2 separate regions of the Homo sapiens genome follow, and region 1 is linked to region 2. The links are contacts of gene promoters, found by promoter capture Hi-C in blood cells and fetal thymus (Javierre and others, 2016). All regions are on one chromosome and are shown on one strand. Each heading gives the region's core, a stretch centred on a gene start or on the middle of the fragment in contact. The rest is flanking DNA. Distances are from core to core; before and after follow the strand shown.

Region 1 (2,700 bases), core at 106-2,605, 90 kb after region 2:
CACAATCAGGTCTACCCCAGGTAAGCTGGACTCAGTTGCCCAAGGTCACGTGAAACCCTCAGCCCTACCCCCTAGCACTGGCTTCTTCAGACCTTAAGGACCTTGGGACAGCTGACCCTACAGTCCTAGCACTTTAACACCATTAACCCATCCAGTCGTCAGCACCGCTGACAGTTACAATCCTAGACTCTCACTGCTACCGAGGCTTCCGGTTCCAGCACCTTAGTACCATGGACGCTTGCAGTCCTAGAATAAGAGCTCCGGCACCACTGTGGTCCAAAAACCTCAGCGCTCTGTCAACACTTACACTCTAGATCGCCTCGCTGTCCACCCTTCCAGTCCCCGAATCTTAGCACCATTGATTCCTCTAGTCCTAGAACCTTTGCGTTGCTACTTTTCCGTTCCTAAAATCTCAACACCATTCATTCTTCTAGACCTACATACAACCTTAGCATCATCGACAGTTACACTCCTAGCATCTAAGTAACACTGATGCTTCCAGTCTTAGAATCCTAGCATTCCCACCCTTTCAGACCTAGAACCTATTGGCACCATTGACTCTTCCAGTTCTACAATTTTAGCACTATCGACAGTTTCAATCCTAGTAGCTCAGCACGGTGGGCCCACCAGTCCAAGAACCTGGGCTTCATGACACTTACGCTACTAGAATCTTAGCTGTTCACCCTTCCAGTCTTAGAGTTTTAGCACTGTTGACCATTCCTTCCTAGAACCATAGCCCCACTGACCCTTCACCTTAATACAATGACACTTAGAATTCTAGAATCCTACACTGCTTTCTCTTTAGAGCCTAGGGCATTAGTACTGTTGACGTTTCCAATCTTAGAACTTAGAATGTATGGTGCAACCATAGAAGCTTAGTACCAATGAAGCTTTGAATCCTAAACCTTAGCCTCATTCCCTCTTTTGGTCTTAGAACCTCAACACTGTTGATCCTTCTAGTTTTAGGACGTTATTTATTTATTTATTTATTTATTTTGAGACGGAGTCTTGCTCTGTCGCCCAAGCTGGAGTGCAGTGCTGCAATCTCTGCCAACTGCAACCTCCGCCTCCCGGGTTCAAGTGATTCTCCTGCCTCAGCCTCCCGAGTAGCTGGGATTACAGGCGCCCACCATCATGCACAGCTAATTTCTGTATTTTTAGTAGAGACGGGGTTTCACCATGTTGGCCAGGCTGGTCTTGAACTCCTAACCTCAGGTGATCCACTTGCCTCGAACTCCCAAAGTGTTGGGATTACACGCATGAGCCACTGTGCCCGGCCTAATTTTTTTGTATTTTTAGTAGAGGCGGGGTTTTACCATGTTGGCCAGGCTGGTGTCGAACTCCTGACCTCAAGTGATCCACCCACCTTGGCCTCCCAAAGTGCTTCGATTACAGGTGTGAGCCACCATGCCCGGGCCAGTTTTAGGACTTGAGTGCTGTTTGCCCCTTGAATTCTATAAGGGTAGCACCCAGAACCTCAGTACCATGGTCCCTCTCAGTCCTAGAATCTTATTACTGTTGAGACTTTGTGTCCTAAAACATACCCATTCTTGTGGCCGGGGGATGGACTATGGTGATTAGCCACCTCCAGGTCACCTGTCTACCCCAGAGAAAAGGGAGTTAGCCACATCCAAGCCACACGTTGGACAGTGAAGGGGGTGGGTGGTTCTTCCAACAAAATCAGGATGCTGTCACCGGAAGACTGGGAAGGCAACAGATACCCACATTGACCACATAGATCTCATTTGGGAATGTATGTCAATAATGCTCTCATGTTATCTATAAGGGATGGAGGCAGGATAGGGAGTCCGGAAAGCTTCCTAAAGTGGTGGGAACTGGGTTTGGTCCAATTTGTAGGGCAATGGTGTTTATAATTGAGAGGATGCCATGAGCCCAAGTCTGGGGTGTTTGGGGGTGGATATTGATGATATCACATAGCTCCAGGCATGTAAGCTCGTAGAAGGTGGGGAGAGAGGGCTGGACTGGGGAAGCCTCCAAGGCCAGGTAAGGCAGCAGGGCCTCAGAGCATAGGTGCAAAGGGAACTTCTGTCTGGTGAAATGGATCATGGGTGAAGCCTTGCATGTCAGATCTTCAAGCCTGGACTTGACCCCTAAATATCATGCCGGGACACCATCCATCAGGGAGCTGACTCAGAGAGCTGGAGCCGGGGAAGCAACAATTCCAAAGACTTCCTCTGAGGGATGAGCAGAGATGACTTAGAGAGAGGAAGGGAGTGGCCCAGGGTCACAGAAACAGTGGGTAGGAGGGTGTGGGGAAGGTTCCAACTGCCCAGCCCCACTTTTCACAGACCTCCTTTTCTCTCACCCCCATCCCCAGAGAGGTCCTAGGGCTGGTGGACATGGCCGCCCTGGAGAATGGGGAGCTGGGGCCCCTTCTCTCCCCTGGCACCCTGCGGGGTTTGGAGGATGAATGCGTCACAGATGTTAAGGTACCTGGAACTTTGCATTTTGGAAGCAGGAGGTGCTGTGGAGGGAGGGGGTCACAGTGGGCTTGGGAAGCCTGTCCCCTCCACCTTTCACTCTTTCCAACTCCCTTTTCCCTTTACGAACTTCTGAGTTCTATCCATGTGCCATAGACACAAAGGCCGCTGTACAGAGACACTTGGTAAAGGTTCAGTATATCTGGACACTTCAAACCTTAGAGTACAAGAAAGTTAGTCACAGAACTACAGCTCACAG
Region 2 (2,886 bases), core at 358-2,857:
GGTCTCTGCTCAGATGTCATCTTCCCAAAGAGGCCTGCCTCGACCTCCCCTGCTGCTGTGCCGTCCCCTCATCTGTGACCCTCTTGCACTATCACCTCCAGGACGGCGGGGGTTTTGTGTTTTGTTGTAGCCTCAGGAAGTGCCTGATAGATCCCTGTTTCGAGACCAGTTCCATTTGGTTTTCTGGGCCTCAGTTTCCGTAACCGTGAAGGAGACCCTCGGCAATCTGAGCTTGCTGGGAAAGGGCTGGGCCCCATGTAAATATTTCTAAAGCACCCCTCTCCCCTCCCCCCTCAGATCAGGAGTCTGAGGGAGAGGCACAGAGGCTCCCTTTCTCTAAGCCAGTCCTCACCTGCCTAAGAAGATGTGAAGGAGACCCAGGAGACCCTGGGATAGGGAGGAACTCAGAGGGAAGGGACATTCTTTTCTTCGTCGCAATCCTGGGAGCTCCCTGGAGGAGGAGACCCGATCAGCCTGCAATCCTGGCGCGTCCCAGGAGGAGAAAGCGGCTTCCTCTATACTGTACTCTCCTCCACAGAACCCCCCTCTCAGCCCTGGAAGTCCTTGCTCACAGCCGAGGCGCCGAGAGCGCTTGCTCTGCCCAGATCTGCGCGAGTCTGGCGCCCGCGCTCTGAACGGCGTCGCTGCCCAGCCCCCTTCCCCGGGAGGTGGGAGCGGCCACCCAGGGCCCCGTGGCTGCCCTTGTAAGGAGGCGAGGCCCGAGGACACCCGAGACGCCCGGTTATAATTAACCAGGACACGTGGCGAACCCCCCTCCAACACCTGCCCCCGAACCCCCCCATACCCAGCGCCTCGGGTCTCGGCCTTTGCGGCAGAGGAGACAGCAAAGCGCCCTCTAAAAATAACTCCTTTCCCGGCGACCGAGACCCTCCCTGTCCCCCGCACAGCGGAAATCTCCCAGTGGCACCGAGGGGGCGAGGGTTAAGTGGGGGGGAGGGTGACCACCGCCTCCCACCCTTGCCCTGAGTTTGAATCTCTCCAACTCAGCCAGCCTCAGTTTCCCCTCCACTCAGTCCCTAGGAGGAAGGGGCGCCCAAGCGCGGGTTTCTGGGGTTAGACTGCCCTCCATTGCAATTGGTCCTTCTCCCGGCCTCTGCTTCCTCCAGCTCACAGGGTATCTGCTCCTCCTGGAGCCACACCTTGGTTCCCCGAGGTGCCGCTGGGACTCGGGTAGGGGTGAGGGCCCAGGGGGCACAGGGGGAGCCGAGGGCCACAGGAAGGGCTGGTGGCTGAAGGAGACTCAGGGGCCAGGGGACGGTGGCTTCTACGTGCTTGGGACGTTCCCAGCCACCGTCCCATGTTCCCGGCGGGGGGCCAGCTGTCCCCACCGCCAGCCCAACTCAGCACTTGGTCAGGGTATCAGCTTGGTGGGGGGGCGTGAGCCCAGCCCCTGGGGCGGCTCAGCCCATACAAGGCCATGGGGCTGGGCGCAAAGCATGCCTGGGTTCAGGGTGGGTATGGTGCGGGAGCAGGGAGGTGAGAGGCTCAGCTGCCCTCCAGAACTCCTCCCTGGGGACAACCCCTCCCAGCCAATAGCACAGCCTAGGTCCCCCTATATAAGGCCACGGCTGCTGGCCCTTCCTTTGGGTCAGTGTCACCTCCAGGATACAGACAGCCCCCCTTCAGCCCAGCCCAGCCAGGTACTGCACGGGGCGGGAATCTGGGTGGGGGCCAGAGTAGGGGATTTCTGTGGGTGCTAGAGGCTTGGCTTGGGAAAGGGTCTGTGTGTCACCCCTTGCTCCACCAACATCCTCCTATACAAAGGCAGGTCGGTGCGTGGGAAGGTTGACCCTTGTGTGTCTGGGAGGCCCCTCCATCTGTGAGGCTGCCTGAACCCCCCACTGGGACCTGTGATTTCTGCGGCACAAGTCTTGGGTTATGGGGAGGGATCCGAGATGAAAGGGGTCCTGACAGCTGCCAACTGTCACCCCCTGCAAGGGGCTGTTGAGCCAGGCCTGTGTTCATTACAGTTTGTCGCCAACACTGGCGCCACAAGCCGTGGGAGGTGTGTCTGTCGCCTAGCAGAGTCTGCAAGAGCAGGTGTCGCAGGCTTTCTTTGCGTTTGCTACTGTGTGGGTCCCTGTGACCTTGTTTCTGACTTAGTAGCGGACACATGAGTGTCCTGGGCATGTCCTTGAGTTTGGAAGTGTGACTGTGTGACTTAGTTTACAGTGTGATCTGGGGAGTCTGCGGTGGTGGGGGTGTGTGGCTCTGGGGCTTTCTGCTTATGTCTCTTGTGGGGGGGGTCACCACCCTGCCTCAGTGCCCTCTCCTGGGGTGTCCCTGGCAGGGATTAGGGGGGCATCCTCTGAAGGGAGGGGGTCTGGGCTGCCATCCCAGGATGTCCTTGAGCCCCGAGGCCTGGACCCGTGTCCTCCCAGCCACCCTGGCCCACCTGTCTTGGGCCTGCTGACTTGGTGCAAGCCGAGCCCCGGAATGTGGGGGTGGGGCGGGGCAGCAGCTGGGGGTGGGATGGCAGGCAGTTGCCAGATTCTAAAAATAACCACCCTGGACAGCAGCACCCAAGGTCTTTGGCGGGTCCCTGTTCCTCTTCCCTGGCTTCAGCTCACCGTGGTCCCAATCTCCCTCCCACAATCCCACCTGCTTCCCATCCCCGTCTCCCACCGCTGCTGGAGGCCCCTTCTCCTTTCTGGGTCCCTTCTCCTTTCTGGGTCCAGTGAATAAAATAATAATAACAGTAGGACCTGGCGCAGTGGCTCACACGCATAATCCCAGCATCTTGGGAGGCCGATGCTGGAGGATCACTTGAGGCCAGGAGTCCCAGACCAGCCTGGGCAACATAGTGAGACCCCATCTCTGCAAAAAAGTAGTAATAACAAATAACAATAATAGCAGCCACCAGGG

The links. The method cuts DNA at HindIII sites, captures the fragments that hold promoters and counts their contacts. A CHiCAGO score of 5 or more calls a contact.
Region 1: a contact is called between a fragment that was not itself captured here and the fragment with the promoter of CKM in region 2, in 4 of 17 cell types (M1 macrophages, M2 macrophages, megakaryocytes and 1 more). The highest score is 6.9, in M1 macrophages.

Annotation. Positions count from the first base shown.
Region 1 is chr19:45,231,513-45,234,212 of GRCh38, reverse strand. It overlaps EXOC3L2 (exocyst complex component 3 like 2), which reads left to right. Exons shown (of 12, transcript NM_001382422.1): 3 at 1-20; 4 at 2,339-2,450. It also overlaps the pseudogene LOC100420902. Among named protein-coding and RNA genes, the nearest start is that of EXOC3L2, 13 kb to the left of the region's middle. The HindIII fragment of the contact is 926 bases long and covers 893-1,818 here.
Region 2 is chr19:45,321,596-45,324,481 of GRCh38, reverse strand. CKM (creatine kinase, M-type) reads left to right here and starts at 1,607. Exons shown (of 8, transcript NM_001824.5): 1 at 1,607-1,661. RefSeq lists an enhancer at 641-883. The HindIII fragment of the contact is 13,711 bases long and covers 1-2,886 here.